Linked DNA regions of Homo sapiens: region 2 is linked to region 1. Evidence: promoter capture Hi-C in 16 types of primary human blood cells and fetal thymus (Javierre and others, 2016). All regions are on one chromosome and are shown on one strand. The core of a region is centred on a gene start or on the middle of the fragment in contact, and the rest is flanking DNA. Distances in the headings are between cores, read along the strand shown. Region 1 holds the start of PATJ (PATJ crumbs cell polarity complex component). Region 2 has its middle 3.3 kb from the start of NFIA.

What was found. Contacts are between HindIII fragments. The CHiCAGO score rates a contact against its expected background, and 5 or more counts as called.
Region 2: a fragment that was not itself captured here is called in contact with the fragment with the promoter of PATJ in region 1 in 1 of 17 cell types (total CD8 T cells); the score reaches 7.3 in total CD8 T cells.

The regions. Positions count from the first base shown.
Region 1 is chr1:61,741,230-61,745,731 of GRCh38, forward strand. PATJ (PATJ crumbs cell polarity complex component) reads left to right here and starts at 1,251. Exons shown (of 44, transcript NM_001350145.3): 1 at 1,251-1,326. It overlaps PATJ-DT (PATJ divergent transcript), which reads right to left and starts at 1,555. Exons shown (of 1, transcript NR_185910.1): 1 at 769-1,555. RefSeq lists a silencer at 1,003-1,712. The HindIII fragment of the contact is 6,850 bases long and covers 1-2,922 here.
Region 2 is chr1:61,077,077-61,081,348 of GRCh38, forward strand. It overlaps a transcript of NFIA not described here. Among named protein-coding and RNA genes, the nearest start is that of NFIA, 3.3 kb to the right of the region's middle. The HindIII fragment of the contact is 445 bases long and covers 1,029-1,473 here.

The DNA of each region.
Region 1 (4,502 bases), core at 1-2,500:
GTCTCTCTCTGTCACCCAGGCTGGAGTGCAGTGGCAGGATCTTGGCTCACTGCAACCTCTGCCTCCTGGGTTCAAGTGATTCTCCTGCCTCAGCCTCCTGCGTAGAGGGGACTACGCATCCACCACACCCGGCTAATTTTTGTATTTGTAGTAGAGACGGGGTTTCATCATATTGGTCAGGCTGGTCTCGAACTCCTGACCTCGGGTGATCCACCCGCCTCGGCCTTCCAAAGTACTGGGATTACAAGCGTGAGCCACCGCGCCCCGCCTGAAAGTCTTTATGTTGTAGTTGTTTTGTATCTATTCCTCATCTTCCTGGGGACAGGGATACCATTTTACACATCTTCCCACAATCAATCACAGTGTTTAACAATTACTGTATGTACTCTATGAATAAGATACCTGAAGATTGATTCTCTTTATCGTTAATGTGTGGACTGTATCAGGCAAAGTAAAACCCCTATCATCAAAAGCCTAAAGTTATTAAAGGGAGTGGAAGAAGGCTATCGGGACATATTTTTCTCGAAGGTGTGACATCACAAATAAAAGAAAATTAACGTATAGTGAAATCATCACTGTAGTTAGAGTCAAAATGCCTTGCCTGTGTTCCAAACTTTGGGCCAGTCAACCTACAGGGTGCACGGTTTCCTCATTAGTTTCTTCAGAGAGTAAATGAGACATTGCATAAGCTAGCACCTAGCATACAGCAGGCAAATACTGCTGGATTTCTTTCTTCCACTAAATGAGAAGAAAATAATGACTCCCACATTTACACGTTTTAGAATATTTTATTTTGCGTCAGCGAATAGAGAAAACAAAGGAGGGATGAGAGAACAGGAAAGGAAAGGGGCAAAAAGACAAAGTGTTAAGCGGATTGACCCAACGCTTTCATCGATATCCTCCTCAATTTCCTTGATCTTGGGTCTCGCTCTACACGCAGGCCTCCAACCACACCGGTCTGTCCGGATCTCCCTCCCCGTCAGTGGCGGCTGTCCCCACCACGCGCGGTCTGATCCGCCACCCCGCCCCCACAGCCCACTTTTCCCAGGCCCTTGGCCATCCCGCGCCCGGTAGGAATTCACCTGCACGTAAACAGCCAGGGCAACCGTCCTCCCTCCTTGGAGCCCGCCTCCCGCGGCCCCGGGCTCCCTCCCCCGCCCCCTGCGCCACCCCGGTGCCCCGCCCCGGGCGGGGAGAGTCGGGGCGAGGGGAGGGCCTGCCAGGTGAGGCGCGGTCACCCTGGGCCTCTCACTTCCGCCCAGGTGAGGCAGGGCCGACACCGAGCCCGCCCGACCCGGGCTCCCACCTGCTCCTCCAGCGCACCAGGTAAAGCGTGAGGTCCCGGCTGTGCAGTGCGCGCTCGCCCCTGGGTGTCCCCGCGCCTGGAGGCCGGCCGGGGGCAGCTCCCTCGGGGCTTCCCGGGCCTGCCTGCCCTGCCCCCGCGCTCTCCCCGCCCGCCCGCCTGGAGTGGGTGGGAGCCGGAGGTGGAGGGCGCCGCCGGGCGCTCAGAGGGGCCGCGGCGAGGATGGGGCGCCCGCGGCGTGCGTCCGCGCTGACCCGGGAGGCGGGGCGGGGGCGCCGTCCTCCTGCGTCGGGCCCGGGTGACCCCACGGTGGTCCCCGCCCCGCCGCGCAGGGCTCGCCGAGGCCGCGGGCAGGGAGGGGCGCCGCCCCGCCTCCCCAGGCCTTTCGGGCCTCGAATCTCGGCCCACTGGTATTCGGGGGTGGCACGGATCCTATTTTGCGCCCAGATCGGTGCCCCTGTTTCGCTCCCAGAGCTGGGCGGAGTCTTTCCCTCCATCGGTGGCCGTGGAAGGAGGGAACGGGGTGAGGGGACAAAGAGGAGGGGGTGCTCAGAGCCGGGCTGAGGGGGCGACTTGGGCCCGGCCGCGTCGCGGCGCCTGGTCATCCCGTAGCGGAGGTTCCCAAGCCAGCGGTCAGGCCCTGGGCTCTGCCAGCCTTGCTGCGTAGATGGGGAGGTTCTGTCGGAAAGTGCTTCCAGCCTTAGGGGAAATTCCTGGACTCCTGCTTTTAAATCAAGCTCAGGAAAGCATTTTCAGATCACTCCCACTCTCCAAAGCGCCCCAGCCGTCCCGCACGCAGGCCGAATTAAGTGAACACCCCTTCACTTGGCACTTTGTCATATTTCCAAGTGGCTCTTGTCACTTTGAATTCCAGTTGGTTGTTTACTGGCTTGCCTCTGCCATTTAGAGGGTGCCCCTTTCAGGGCCTTATTTTTCGACTGCATTTAGGGTCTGGCTATTGGTAGGTGCGCGACAAGTGTTTCTTAAAGGAAGGCAGAAGCCTTTGGAAACCCAGAAGGACAATGTCGGTTCCACTGAGGATGATACTACCACATTCTGGGCTAAATTCCTATTGGCTGCAAATTAATTTGCACACATCTATTTGAAAGGAGTGGAGGCAGGGGCAGCGGTTAAAAACTTAAATCTGTTTGCAGCATTAGAAAATGTTAGGTGAGATTGAGCCTTTTAGCTAAAGTGAGCTTTGATGTTTTTAGGGCCCCTAATGGCCTTTAAGATGTTAACAATAACAACAACAACAAAACACTCCAAATGTGTTGAATTTATTTGGGAATGAGAAATGAGCGTTATAGCCCGAGGTGCACAGGCCTGGCAAGCCATATATGCATGGAAGAGGGGAGGGTAAAAGGAAACTTTTATTGGCAAAGTAAGTGCAGATAAGCTGCGTGAAAACAGAGTTTATTGGTTTTGCAGACTGAAAGCCAGAGTTGGCCATTGTTGAAGATGCCATTACTGGGCAGGTGTTATGGAGAGCATCTTATCAGGCCTGGCAACCTGCCTCATGCCTGTTATCTCAGCTACTTAGGAGGCTTAGGCAGGAGGATCGCTTGAGGCCAAGAGTTGGAGACCAGCCTGAGCAACATGGCTGTCTTTACAGAAAAAGCTTTTTAAATAGTCAGGTGTGTCGGGAGGTTGAGGCAGGGGAATTGCTTGAGCCCAGGAGATGGAGGCTGTGGTGAGTGGTGTTTGCACCACTACACTCCAGCCTGGGTGACAGAGCAAGAACCCTGTCTCAAAAAAAAAAAAAAAAAAAAAAGGAAAAAAGATTATCTTATCTTATCTTATCTGAATTACTGCATTCCTAAAGAAAGAATTTCTTGGGTGGTTATTTTAGTTCCTTCTTGAGACCGATCTTTATCTCAGACTTGCAAGCATGAGCTTTCTCCCTCAGGCTCTCTAGTTTGTTTGGGTTTGACAAAAAGTGATTTTGACCTGGTATCTGCAACTTTCACAAAGATAATAACAAAGTTAATAAATATGGAAATACTTATGGATAGAACTTATAAAATGAGTTCTGAAGAGATTTGCCCTTACTAGTCCAGATCCTATTAGGAGTAAGAGAAAAAACACAAACTTTTTCCTCTGCTCTCACACCACTACAGTCAACACTGAGGACTTCTGTGACCAAATAAATGTGTGGGCCCATCAGTTCTGCATCAAGCAATAGCTGAGCATCTAACAGTTCGATTCTGAAACTATTTACCTGGGGATAGTGTCAGATCCCATAAGACTGCCCTCACTTCTGATGCCAATCACAAGTCCTAGATTGTTTTACCCCGGCTTCTGACTAACCACCTATAAATTGGGAATCCCATAACTCCCTCCTCTGGGTTGGTTAACTTGCTAGAGCAGCTCACGGAACTCAAGAAAACACTTATTTAGGTTTATTACTAGTTTATTATTAAGAATATTACAGAGGATACAAGAGGAAGAGATGCACAGGGTGAGGTATGAGAAGGGGCATGCCACCCTCCAGGAACCTCCATGTGTTCAGATATTGAGAAGCTCTCCCTACCCCATCTTCTTGGGCTTTTTATGGAGACTTCATTGAGTAGACATAATTGAAGCATGGGGTAGGGAAACCCAGCAATGCCTATCTGTTCAGATTTTTCTTGGCCTCTCTCTGTAGCATTCCTTCCTCCAGGGTATGGGCAGGACCCCTTCTTATGGGGGTCTTATGACCTACAATCAGACAAGGGAGATCAGATAATTTTTTTAAATATTTATTTATTTATTTATTTTGAGACAGAGTCTTGCTCCGCTGCCCAGGCTGGAGTGCAGTGGGTGATCTCAGCTCACTGCAACCTCCACTTCCCGGGTTCAAGTGATTGTCCTGCCTCAGACTCCTGAGTAGCTGGGATTACAGACATGTGCCACCATACCTGGCTAATTTTTGTATTTTTAGTAGAGACAGGGTTTTACCATATTGGCCAGGCTGGTCTCGAACTCCTGACCTCAAGTGATCCACCTGTCTTGGCCTCCCAAAGTGCTGGGATTACAGGCGTGAGTCACTGCACCTAGCCAAAATTATTTTACTTTATTTTATTTTAATTAATTAATTTATTTATTTGGAGACGGAGTCTTGCTCTGTTGCCCAGGCTGGAGTGCAATGGCGCTGTCTTGGCTCACTACAACCTCTGCCTCCCAGGGTCAAGCGCTTCTCTTGCCTCAGCTTCCCAAG
Region 2 (4,272 bases), core at 1-2,500, 660 kb before region 1:
TGGCGGGGAGACAGACTGGAGGAGGGGAGAAGGGGGCAAGGCCTTTTCCCTGCCCCCTCCCTGCCCCCTCCGCCGCAGGCTGCCGCCGGTACCTCGTGCGTGGTTACTATGCAAATTGCAGCGATTGCGGAAATAAACAAGGGAGTTGGGAGAGGAGAGAGGGACTGCCGAATCGATTGCAACTTCTGCAAAGTCTCGTACAATCCAAAGCACGCAAGGCAAAACCAGAGCGAATCTGAGAACCAGCCAGCCCGGGTTGGATCGCTTTCAAAAGAGAGAGTGAGAGCGAGCGAGCGAGCGAGCGAGAGCGAGACAGTGAGAGAGGGAGAGAGCGCGCCTTGCAATTGCAAAAGCCTTCTGATTTGGAGTTAAAAAAAAAATTCTCCAAGAAGCCTGCAATTGGCCAACAGCTTTTTAAAAAATCTCTTCCGGGTTTTCAACGGTTCCAAGTTTATTTAGATATTTTTTAAATGCAAAAAAAAGGGGACAACAAATGAAGCAATTCGTCTGAGCATTTTAAAGTTTCTCACGTACTCTTTTTACATTGCAATGGTACGTGGTACATCTTAAACTTTCTATTTTGCATTTATATGATATGCGTTTTATAAACAATGGTAGAATGATTTTGTTTAATGGCTAAGACTAAAATTTCTCTAGCTCGCATATGCACTTAAGTGATTGCTGGGTAAATGTCTATTGTGATGGTTTTGTTTTAAAGATGTAGCTTTGTTGATGGTGTTTTTGCTATGTGCATCAGAGACCGGGTTTTCTTTTTCTTTTTTTTTTTTTTCGGGATTTGAAAAAATTGCTGAGCTTGACAGATTTTTTTTTCCTCCTAGCGCTTGCTCGGTTCCAGAAAGGGGTGGGGGGAAATCCTGTACGTGCTCTGTTCTGTAAAAGACGTCTGGCCTCAGCAGTCAACCTAACCCGAAAAGAAATGTCTGGACCCGGAGAATAATTGACGATTTGATCCTCTAATCAATGGGACAACTTGGGAGATTGACAAAAGCTTTATCCAATCATAAGGAAGCTTGGGTGTACAATAGTTCTCAATAGCCAGAGGGGGCGGGGCAGAGGAGATCTGAAGTTCTCTGCAGCTCTGAAGGGGATGGTGTGGTTCAAGCTGTCAAAGCTACAAGCGCTTCCGGATTTAGCAAGCACAATAGGAAAGAATTTTCGCGTTTAAGAAAAAAAAAAAAGCTGATCGGGGGAGTTTTGCATGAATCGTGTGCCTTCTTCCTTGTCTTTTGGAAAAAGAAACATTCTGCTAGAGAAATAACTTTGTATTGTTATTAACTTTGCATTAGCTATTATTTTTATGCTCAGGGAAGCTGGTAACTTGTGGAATGTGAAGTTCAACTTTAAGAAACGTGTGGCTTAAATCTTGCCTGAATTGTGGGACTGTAGTGAGCTTTGGGAAGTAATATATTGCGTATTCAGCATTACAAAACTTCTTACTCTGATTATCTTAGAAGCTTTGGCATTTCAAGTACTTTGAAATTAATAGGTAAACCTCTCTTCTTGAACTCTAAACAACAGTTTTAAAGGAGAGAATGTTTCACATGTGGACTAGCAGCTGTCTTACACACTTGAAAGAAATTAGGGGAGTGTTTTTTCTTGGCTATTCTTGAATTCTGCTTTTTAAGTATATGGTCAGTAGGAAATAGGACGTTAAGACTGGCCAAGTTCACGTTTCTCCTTGTTACCACAACAACCCCCGTGGAGAGTGTATGGAAGATCGCTGACTTGCTAACTGTTAGTTGGAGTCTGGCCTCTTGGACAAGTGCTTGATACAAATCCAGTGGAAACCAACTGCAGTAGCTTGTCTTGGAGACAGTAACTGGCAGCCTCTGACTAAAATATCTCCATCTCCTCCTCTCTGAGCAGCGTAGACACCCAATTCTGTTGGGAAGTGAATGGAAAATAATATGGGCTCTTTCCCTTCTTTGGATTAAATTCCCATCGAGCTATTTCCCAAGGCTTTAGGCCTTCCAGTCAAATCTGGCTTGGAAATTTGATGTAAGAATTCACTTGGACACTCACTTCAGCAACATGATTCAATTTAGGATTATATGCACATAAGAAAAATCTGCACAGAAGTGACCAGCAGGTCAAAAACCAGAGAAGAAAAAATGTTGAAAAATGCCAGTTAATAAAGTTAGTTTTGGTAAGAACTACAGAGTTATGGTGTTGTCGCTTATGAATCCCAGTCCTATCTTCACTGCTTTGGGTATTAAAATCTAAATCATATTAATAAGATCTCCCTATTAAGTAACCTCCAAAATGAGAGCTATTTGAGATGTACATATAAGTGAAACCTTATTGACGTAATTTATATATCTAAGAGGATTTCACTAAAGCTGGCAAGGTAACGTTTCTGCAAATAAAACACAGTAAATGCAAGGCTGGGCTCTGTGCCAGGAAGAATATGGATAGCAGAGAGCATGACAGGAGCCTCCTTTGCGCAGAGACAATCCCATTTCAAGGCAGCCTCCTACCACTTGGAAAATAAATGATTGGAGAGGTTATTTCCAATAAGGGGTTTATCCTTCCTAACAATGGGTCATTTATATGATTGCAGTGAACTAGTTTCCATACTTCACCTGCGTTTCCTCCACTGCTCTCTCTACTATCCTTTCTTTCTTCCCTCCTCCTCCATCCCTGCTCTCTCTCAAGTGCCTTAGTATCTTTGTGAACTCTGGACAAGGATTTACTTTTGCAACTTGGGAAGAGGGGAGAGGGTTGGAAATGTTTTTTACCCCCAGTCTGCCCTTTGAGGAACATCTGTTTCTTTGTGCGTGTGTTTAAATTTATGCCTGTTGGAGAGAAAGTTACCAGAAGCCTTTCTGTAACTGTAACTCTTCTACTGTATTTTTCTCAGTCTTGTTTCCAAAGGCTGTAGTTGGAACTGTGCTTTGTAGTGTTCCCCCGCCTCCCCCCCTCCCTCCGCGGGGGAGGGAGCGGGAGCTGGCGGAGATAGGAGAGAAAGCAGGAGCGGATGTGAAGGGCTTTGGTGCTGAACTTGGATCCAGCCCTTGCCTAGAGGGCGCAAACAATCGTCCCATATCCAAAAGTCTTACGAAGGGCGCCAAAAGTTACTTAAGATAATATTGCTAACCGCAGAAAGCTGGAAATCGCGGGGCACATCCACTGCTGCAACAAAAGAAGTTTTTAAAGTAGAAATATCAGCATTAAATTACTTCCCCCATTAAAAAAAAAAAACAGGGCGACATGCCAGTCCTTTTTAAAAAAAATCTTTTTTTTCCTTGAGACTCAAAAGTAAGAATCTTTGCCGTTTTGAAAATAGGCAGATGTGAAGTGTATCTTTTAATACACCAAAAGAAAGATTTTAATCTGCTCTGGAAGAGAGCTTCCCGAGTACACACTCTGAACAATAACTTTTCACTGTGCCTCAGTTACATGTTGGGACCGTCAGCCAGAAACTTCTATCGAGGAAACTTGGAGCGCATTGAAGTTATAGATCCCAGCAAAGGTTCTCGTGGCCAGGGATGTTGTCTCTGTAACACAGCTTGGCTTTTAGGACATTCCTCCCCTACTAAAATCTGAGAGGAACCAAGGAAAAGCAGTGGGTTAAGTTTGGGAAAATGGACTCTCTCATTAAAGGCTGAAATCATTATTTCTCCTCACTCCTTAGTAAATAATCTTGAGAGATTTCCAAGGATGTTCAGGAGGGAGGGTGGGAGAGAGAATGGTTCTTGAGCATTCGGGAATTATTTTGGCAATAAAGTAACTAAAGTACAAGCATAAAATAACTTTAGACAGATGCAGAATTATTTCAGAGGTTCTCTTTTGCTCTTTCTCCAGTACAGTATTTCCTGCCCCTTGCTTTGAAAAGAAGTCTGAATGAGAGTGGCCTTAACACATCACTCACCCTCACTTGTTAACACATCACTTACCCTCACTTTCCTACAGGAATGTCCCCTCTTTAGAGACTCTCTGGTTATGTCACCTCCACCGAAGGGCAGATTCCCCTGTGTGCCAGTGTCTTTCAACATGATACCTACCTCTTTCCTTTTGGAATTTTGAGAAGGGTTGTCAAATGCAGCATTTTGCAAACCATCATGAGGAAGAGAAGTAAAATAAGGGATGGGGGCTTAGAAGAGGCAGGTAGGCTTTCCCCCCTCCGAGAGAGGAGAGCCTAGAGAGAAAATATGAGGTTAAAAAAAAAAAACTGGAAAAGCAGGCTTACTGGCAACTTGCCAAACCCTAAAAACCACCCCCCTCTTTTCTGCCAAAACAATACTTTAGCAA